3 separate regions of the Homo sapiens genome follow, and regions 1 and 3 are each linked to region 2. Evidence: promoter capture Hi-C in human tissues and cell types (Jung and others, 2019). All regions are on one chromosome and are shown on one strand. Each heading gives the region's core, a stretch centred on a gene start or on the middle of the fragment in contact. The rest is flanking DNA. Distances are from core to core; before and after follow the strand shown.

Region 1 (2,700 bases), core at 103-2,602, 34 kb after region 2:
ACCTATGAATCCTAGCTAGAGGAGAAACACCACCAGCTATTAGATGCTGGTTCAGAGCATATACAGCCTTCCAGAGAACCTTGCCCAAGCCCTGCAAGGTATCACCACCTAGCTAGTGCTGTAACTCAATCTTCCAAAGGTCATTCTACAATTCTATCAAACCAGCTGCTTCAGACTGGTGAGAAACACGGTAAAAACAGTGAATTCCACAAGCATGGGCCTATTGCCACACTTCTTTTGCTGTGAGGGGGGTTCCTTGTTTAGAAGCAATGCTGTGTGAGGCCAGGCACAGTGGCTCAATCTTGTAATTCCAGCACTTTGGGGGGCTGAGGTGGGAAGATCACTTAAGACCAGGAGTTCGAGTCCAGCCTGAACAACATAGGGAGACCCCTTCTCTACAGATAATTTAACAAATTAGTCAGGTGTGGTGGTGTTCACCTACAGTCCCAGCTACTTTGGACACTGAGGTGGGAGGATCACTTCAGCCCTGGAGGTGGAGGCTGCATGAACCAAGATCACACCATTGCATGCAGGAAAGGCAAATCCATATCCAGAGTGTCTATTCCTGTAAGAACAAAATGCTGCCACTTCCATGATGGAAGTGATCCAGTGTAATCAACCTGCCACCAGATAGCTGGCTGATCACTCCAGGAAATGGTGCCATATTGAGGATTCAGTATTGGTCTCTGCTGCTGGCACAGTGGGCATTCAGCAGTGGCCATAGCTAGGATGCCCTTGGTGAGTGGAAGTTTATGTTGCTGAGCCTATGCATAACCTCCATCCCTGCCATTACGGTCACCTTGTTCATGAGCCCACTGGGCAATGACAAGGTGGCTGGGAAAGAGGCGGACTGGGATCCACAGACTGGGTCATCTTATGCACTTGATTATTAAAACCCTACTCTGCTGAGGTCACACTTTGTTGAGAATTCACATGAGACATAAAAATCTTCCATTTTTTTTGTGCTAATTCAGAGAGATCTATCTATATACTTCTTTCCCAAATTTTCTTGTCCTTCAATTTTCTAATCACGTTCCTTCCAAGTCCCTGATCACCCAGCCAAACCACTGGCCGTGGTCCATGAATTGGTATATATCACATATCTGGCCATGTATCTTTCCAAGCAAAGTGAACAACCAGGTACACTTCTCAAAGTTCTGCCCACTGGGAGGATTTTTCTTCATCACTGTCCTTCAGAGAAGTTCTGGAAAGGGGCTGTAGTGCTGCAGCTGTCCACTTTAAGGTGGTGCCTGCATATCGTGCAGAACCATCTGTAAACCAGGCCCAAGTCTTCTCTTTGTCTGTGAACTGTCAACTTGTGGGAAACTCCCCATTAAGCCATAGATGCAGGCTGGGAGAGATAAAATGATATAATAGAAGTGGGGGCCATGGTCATTTGGGCCACTTCATGTAGCTTACTTGTGCTTTGAAGGCCTACTCAAACATGATCATGTATACGCCACTTCTATTTGATGATGGGCTCTTGCTCTCCATACCCGACTTTATGGCCTGATGGGTCAGATTACACCCAGCTTATGATAAGCAGCTCAGGTTGCATGGTAACCTGGTGGCCCATGGTTTAGCATTCAGTCTCTAGTAAGGCCCAGTAGCAGATCAAGAGATATTTCTTAAAAGGAGAGTAGTTATCTGCAGAAGATGACAGGGCTTTGCTTCAAAATCCAAAGGGTTTGTGTAGTGACTCATCTGTAGGGGCCTGCCAAAGGCTCCAAACAGCATCTCTCTCTGCAGACACTTCAAGCACAATTGGATCTGCTGTATTACATGGCTCAAGTGGCAGAGCAGCTAGCACAGCAGCCTGGACCTGTTGCAGAGCCTTCTCTCGTCTGCACATCACTCAAAAATAGCAGCTTTTCAGCTCACTCAGTAAACGTGCCAAGTAGCACACACAAATGAAGAATATGTTGCCTCCAAAATTCAAAGAGGCCCACTAGGCATTGTGTCTCTTTCTTGGTTGTAGGAGGGGGCTAGATGCAACAACTTTTCCTTCACCTTAGAAGGGATGTCTCGACATGCTCCACACCACTGGACCCCTAGAAATTTTACAGACGTAGGAGGCACCTGAAGTTTTGTCAAATTTATTTCCCACCCTCTGGCATCCAAATATCTTACCCATAAGTCTAGGGAGTAGCTGCTACTTCTTCCTCACTAAGTCCAATCAGCATAATGTCATCAATGCAATGGACCACTGTTATAGCTTGTGGAAAAAAAAGGTGAGCAAGATCCCTGTGAACTAAATTATGACATAGTGTTGGAGAGCTGATAGACTCCTGAGAAGGACAGTGGCAGTGTATTGCTGGCCTTGCCAGCTGAAATCAAAATGCTTCTGATGGTCTTTACTAACAGGTATGGAGAAAAAATATGCACCAGATTGATAGCTGCATACCAGGTACCAGAGATTGAGTTAATTTGCTCAAACAACGAAACCATATCTGGTAAAGCAGCTGCAATTGGAGTCATCACCCGGTTAAACTTTCAGTAATCCACTGTCATTCTCCAAGATCCGTCTGTCTTCTGCACAGACCAAATAGGTGAGTTGAATAGGGATGTAGTGGAAATCACACCCCCACATCCTTTTAAGTCCTTGCTGGTGGCACTAACCTCTGCAATCATTCCAGGAATGCAGTGTTGCTTTTGGTTTGCTATTGTCCTAGGGAGAGGCAATTCTAGTGGCTTCCATCT
Region 2 (2,700 bases), core at 108-2,607:
GTGGCGGGGGCGGCGGGGGCGAGTGCGGGTGGAAGGCGGCGGCGGCGGCGGCGGCCGCTGCGGCGGCGAAGAGGGCCGAGGGCGGCGCGTAAGGCGGCAGCTGCAGGCCGTAGCCGCAGCCGTAGGGGCCGTAGCCGTAGGCATGCGGGGGCGGCGGGGGCGCGGGCGGGAAGAGCGCGGCGGCGGCTGCCGGGTCGCCCGCGCCCCCTGCGGCTCCCGCGCCGCGCAGCAGCAGAGACTCGGCGGCCGCGGCGTTGGGTGGGAGCAGCGGCTGCCGCTTGAAGCGCTTCCTCCGGCGCAGGAAGCTGCCGTTGTCGAACATGTCGGCGGACTCCGGGTCCAGCGTCCAGTAGTTGCCCTTGCCCGGGTTGCCGGGCTCGCGGGGGATCTTGACGAAGCAGTCGTTGAGCGAGAGGTTGTGGCGGATGCTGTTCTGCCAGGCGGGGAACTTCTCCCGGTAGTAGGGGAAGCGGCCGCTGATGAACTCACAGATCTCGCTCAGCGTCAGCCGCTTCTTGGGGCTCTGCAGGATGGCCATAGTGATGAGCGCGATATACGAGTAGGGCGGCTTCACCAGCGGGTTCTTGGCGCCGCTACCCGCGCTCCCGCCGCCGCCCGCGCCGCCGCCGCCGCCGCCCCCACCGGCTCCTGCCCCCGCCGCCGGGGCCGGGCCCGGGGGCGCCGGGGAGCCCCCAGCAGGCGGGGCCAGCAGGATGTCATCGTCGTCCTCCTCCTCCTCCAGATCCTCCAGCTCGTCCTCCCCGGCGTACGAGCGCCGCCGCCGCCGCCGCTGCGCGGGGACAGCCAGCCGGGGCCCGCCACCGCCGCCCTCGTCGTCGTCCTCCTCTTCCTCGTCTTCTTCGTCCTCGCCCTCCCCCACCACGTCGATGTCTGTTTCCTCGGCGAGGCCAGAGGCATCGGACATCTCAGTGCTCAGGGTCATAGCTGTGGCGCGGCGGCGGCGGGGCGGCGCATGGGGGCGCCGGGCTCCGGGCTCCCTCTGCGCCCCAGCCCGGGTCCCGGGCGGCAGGCCCGGCCGGGGGGCGCCACGCTGGGGGCGCTGCGACTGCGGCTGCCGGAGCTGCGCCGGGGCTGCCGGGTGGCGGCGGAGTCTCGCGCGCCGACTTTATAACTCCTGCGCCGCCGCGGTAGCCGCGCGGATGCTGCGCTCCCTGGGCTCCGCTCGCGCCCGGCCCGGGCGGAGGACTTGACCTTCTCCTCTCGGAGCAGCTTTTGCCCCGTCAGCTGAGGAGGGGGTGGCGGGGCCCGGGCGGGCGAATCAGAACGCCAGGCGCCCAGGAACGTGCGGGACGGGTGAGAGTCTAAGAACAGAGCTCGGCGAGGCCAGGGCTGAGTCCAGGAGAGGGCGGACCTTCCTCGGCTTATAGCAGAAGGGGGCCTGTCACATGGTGTGCACGTCAGAGCGCTGCCGAGGGAAGGAAAGCAAGCCTAGGAAATCAGCCCTTCTCGGGAGAGAAAATTCACCCGTAGGAGGGAGGCAGCAGCTGAGAAGAGTGGGGAGGAGAGGGGACCTCACTATTTCTTGCCAAAGAGGCTGATGCCCGAATTACGCGGCTGTCTGCACCGAGGGCCGCTGCACGAGTTAGACTTCCCAGCCTCCTCAATTAGTCCTCCACCCTAACCTCAGAAGCACACCCGCGACACTCTGGTTTGACCCCTCGACAGCCTGTAGGAGCCTTCCAGCCGGGGGATAACCACCCCATCCTCTGAGGTGGCCCCTGGGGGACGCTCTGGGGTCGGTTGGGGGTGTCCAGCCCCTCCAGATCGGGCGAGCGGCCCCCCATTGGATCTGATGCGAAGCCCCCCAATTTAAGCACGATAATAATTGTTTATTGACCCTTTAACCCATTCTCTTCGGTTTTACTCCAAAGACGTTTGTTTTCCGCCATCTGTTAATAAAAACGCTGTGAGACTGGCGTTTTACTCACTTCTCTGCGATTGAATGCCCTAGAGACTTGACAGTTAAACTAAGCCACTCTAATGAGACGATCTGACAAATGTCATGGGAATAAAGAACGTAATAATTGAATTCGGAGAAGAAATTGAAATTTTTAGTGAAAACCCAAATACACGCACAAAAATTGCACCTAGAAACTACTAAAAAGTTCGACCAGCCTGGCCAACATGGTGAAACCCCGTCTCTACTAAAAATAGAAAAAAATTAGTAGGCGGCGCCTGTAATCCCAGCTACTCGGGAGGCCGAGGCAGGAGAATCGCTTGGACCCGGGATGCGGAGGTTGCAGTGAGCCGAGATCGTGCCACTGCACTCCAGCCTGGGCAACAAGAGCGAAACTCCGCCTCAAAAAAAAAAAAAAAAAACAGAAGTTCGTTCATAATGGGGCTATATAGTTCTCAGTAGGAGGAACATTCTAGTCAGCACTTTGCATAGTAATCTCAAAATACTTAAATTACATAACATATACATATTTCTACTGAGGCTTATTAATAGAAACTATAATGATAGATGACTTTAAGATAAACTTTTTAAAAATGTGTTTTTGGAAAATCCTTAAATATTGTTAATCCTTTCTGGTGAGATGAAAATTTTTTTTATGAGATTAAAGTTCCGCTCAATTCAGTTTTCTTTTCGGGTGACAAGATAGTGGAAATAATTAAGATATGATGCTCTTTTAAATATACCTATCTTTATCACCAACTCAAACGAGCTATTTTGGCTAG
Region 3 (2,882 bases), core at 144-2,643, 61 kb after region 2:
GAGACAAGCTCACCGAAATGGCCGCGTCCAGTCAAGGAAACATTGAGGGAAATTTTGAGTCACTGGACCTTACGGAATTTGCTAAGAAGCAGCCATGGTGGCGTAAGCTGTTCGGGCAGGAATCTGGACCTTCAGCAGAAAAGTATAGCATGGCAACCCAGCTGTTCATTGGAGGTGTCACTGGATGGTGCATGGGTTTCATATTCCAGAAGGTTGGAAAGTTGGCTGCAACAGCTGTGGGAGGTGGATTTTCTCTCCTTCAGCTTGCAAACCATACTGGGTATATCAAAGTTGACTGGCAACGAGTGGAGAAGGACATGAAGAAAGCCAAAGAGCAGCTGAAGATCCGTAAGAGCAATCAGATACCTACTGAGGTCAGGAGCAAAGCTGAGGAGGTGGTGTCATTTGTGAAGAAGAATGTTCTAGTGACTGGGGGATTTTTCGGAGGCTTTCTGCTTGGCATGGCATCCTAAGGAAGATGACCTCATGTTCATTGTTCCTGGTTTTTTCCAGCCAGCAGCCTCTACACTCCATCGTAGGACATCGAGTCCCTCCTCTCCTTCTCCCATGCCTTCCTGCCTGCCATGGCAAATCTGAGTGGCTTCTATAAGCTTCTGCTGGTACAAATTAATGTGGCACCATGAGCTTGATGGTGGCAGAAGAGACAATAGTCCTTAGCTCTCCTCCCAGTACACCCCCTACTTGGTCAGTCTGTAGGTCAACAAGAAGGTCAGTCTGTAGGTCAACAAGAAGGTTCCTTTACCCCCATGCAAGACACTTATGAGAACACATTGCAAGATGGCTGACCGTGGAGGATGAGTGGATCCTGAAAGGTTGTCCCAAACTGTTGATTTGGAAAAGAAATAAGCACATAGATAACCTTATTGTGTGCTGCATGGAAAGGAACTGAATACATTTGCCTTTAAGCATGAAAAAAAAAAAAGAAAGAAAGAAAGGGTCCCTTTGAGTTTGTATGTTCAATCAGCAGGGAAAAGAATCACTGCTAATTGGCAGCTAGCAAGAAGAAAAGGATCTCCTTATACTTTTAGTCTTTATTTGTCAGAGCATTGTTATCTGTAATTCCTAGCATTTCTATTTCTACCCTCCACGATGACCAGACAAAGGGCAGGAAATTATCTATTTAGCGTATTTCTGATAGGGCTTTCAGATACTACTAACTGGGGCCACGAGGTATTGGAATTGCACCTCTGCCATGTTTTCATGAAATTGTGGGGTGATCAGGTGTCTGCCAAGTATTAAACTACCGTAAGGAACAGAATGAGGGGAGGAGAGAAGGAGGAAAGTGAGGGAGGAAAAGCAAGGAAATGGCAAAGGTTAAACAAAAAAATTTTTGAGAGCCAAAGCACTCAACAGATTTTTGTTTGATCTTCACCAACCTTTGTAAAGAAATATAGAAGGAATCTGATAGCAGACAAGAGCTGTCCGTCAAGATTATTTCCTTTGGTAATTCTTACAGAACTGGCTGTATTCTTAGCTAGAGAATTCATCTAGTTTAAACATGCACAAACTACTGGAAATGACAGAATCTTAAAATCATGGATGTATCCTTAAGGAAGGCTTGTAAGGATGAGTTAATTTATGTAATTGAAGTATAAGGGTAGCCACTCCAAGAAGCCATTAAAAAATTAATGACATTTTCATTTTTACCTGATTTATCTGAGCAATCACCACAGTCATTTCTTGTGTCACACACCTTGTCCATATATGTCCAAGTCTTCTGGTTGGGACACTTGAATATCAAGTTTTGTGGGAGACTGTTGGGCATTTGACCTATATTAGACAAAAGCATTAATTCTAATAGAAAGCATTCACGTACAATAATGTTTTCATATAATTCTGAATTTTAGTGATTAGTTGCTGGTGACTGTTTTTAAATTTTGGTTACTTGTCTGCCTTACTAGAGTGGGTAGCAGGTTCGTCTTCCCCTTGACTGCAATCCAACTTGCCATTACACAGCTGGGAGGGTGGCAAGCAAGTGCTGAGGTCCTCGCACAAGAAGCCCAGTTGCTGTGAAGCTGTCTTACATTGTCGATGTGGTAAATCTGGAAAATATTTATTTATTTATTTATTTCGAGACGGAGTTTCGCTCTAGGCTGGCGTGCAGTGGCGCCATCTCAGCTCACTGCAACCTCTGCCTCCTGGGTTCAAGCGATTATCCTGCCTCAGCCTCCCTAGTAGCTGGGATTACAGGCACCTGTCACCACACCCGGCTAATTTTTGTATTTTTATTAGAGACGGGACTTCCCCATGTTGGCCAGGCTGGTCTTGAACTCCTGACCTCAAGTGATCCTCCCGCCTCAGCCTCCCAAATTGCAGGGATTACAGGCATGAACCACTGCGCCTGGCCTAAATCTGGAAGATTTATAAGACAAGTATTAAATGTTGACACATGCATTCGTGACCATGAACATCAGCTTTAATAACAACATGCCCCTCTTCCCTCTTCTGCTTCTTACCATCGTTCTTTTTTTGACTGAAGCTTTAGCTGTAACCATTGTTCTTTTGCCCATTATTTCTCCTCCCTCTTTTCTTTCTTATTCTCCCTCATTCTTTTTTGTAATACTACTGTATGTGGGCAAACAAGCATACACTCACCACTGCTGGAGAAGTACTGGAAGGTGCCTGGGAGAGGGTCCATAGGCATAGGCTCTGGCTTGAGCTTTACCATGGGCTGGTTATATAGCCCCCTCCATTATTTTCTTAGCTAGAAATGAGAGCAAGGGTAACTCTCTATGCTGACTTCATGGGGATACTATGAGTTAAACTGATATTATTGTTTAAATGTAATTAGTCTACCCATTCAAAAAATGAATGGGAGGTAGTCAAAATAATGTGAAAGGTATTTTTAAAAATTTCAAGTG

The links. Contacts are between HindIII fragments. The study calls those that stand out against the background at their distance.
Region 1: a fragment that was not itself captured here is called in contact with the fragment with the promoter of FOXD1 in region 2 in 4 of the 25 tissues and cell types used here (H1 embryonic stem cells, hippocampus, mesenchymal stem cells and 1 more).
Region 3: a contact is called between a fragment that was not itself captured here and the fragment with the promoter of FOXD1 in region 2, in 2 of the 25 tissues and cell types used here (IMR-90 fibroblasts and thymus).

What each region holds. Positions count from the first base shown.
Region 1 is chr5:73,481,265-73,483,964 of GRCh38, forward strand. No RefSeq gene overlaps it. Among named protein-coding and RNA genes, the nearest start is that of LINC01386, 9.6 kb to the left of the region's middle. The HindIII fragment of the contact is 5,309 bases long and covers 1-2,700 here.
Region 2 is chr5:73,447,420-73,450,119 of GRCh38, forward strand. It overlaps FOXD1 (forkhead box D1), which reads right to left and starts at 1,358. Exons shown (of 1, transcript NM_004472.3): 1 at 1-1,358. The coding sequence starts at 943. The HindIII fragment of the contact is 13,220 bases long and covers 1-2,700 here.
Region 3 is chr5:73,508,782-73,511,663 of GRCh38, forward strand. It overlaps the pseudogene FUNDC2P1. Among named protein-coding and RNA genes, the nearest start is that of BTF3, 12 kb to the left of the region's middle. The HindIII fragment of the contact is 4,146 bases long and covers 1-2,882 here.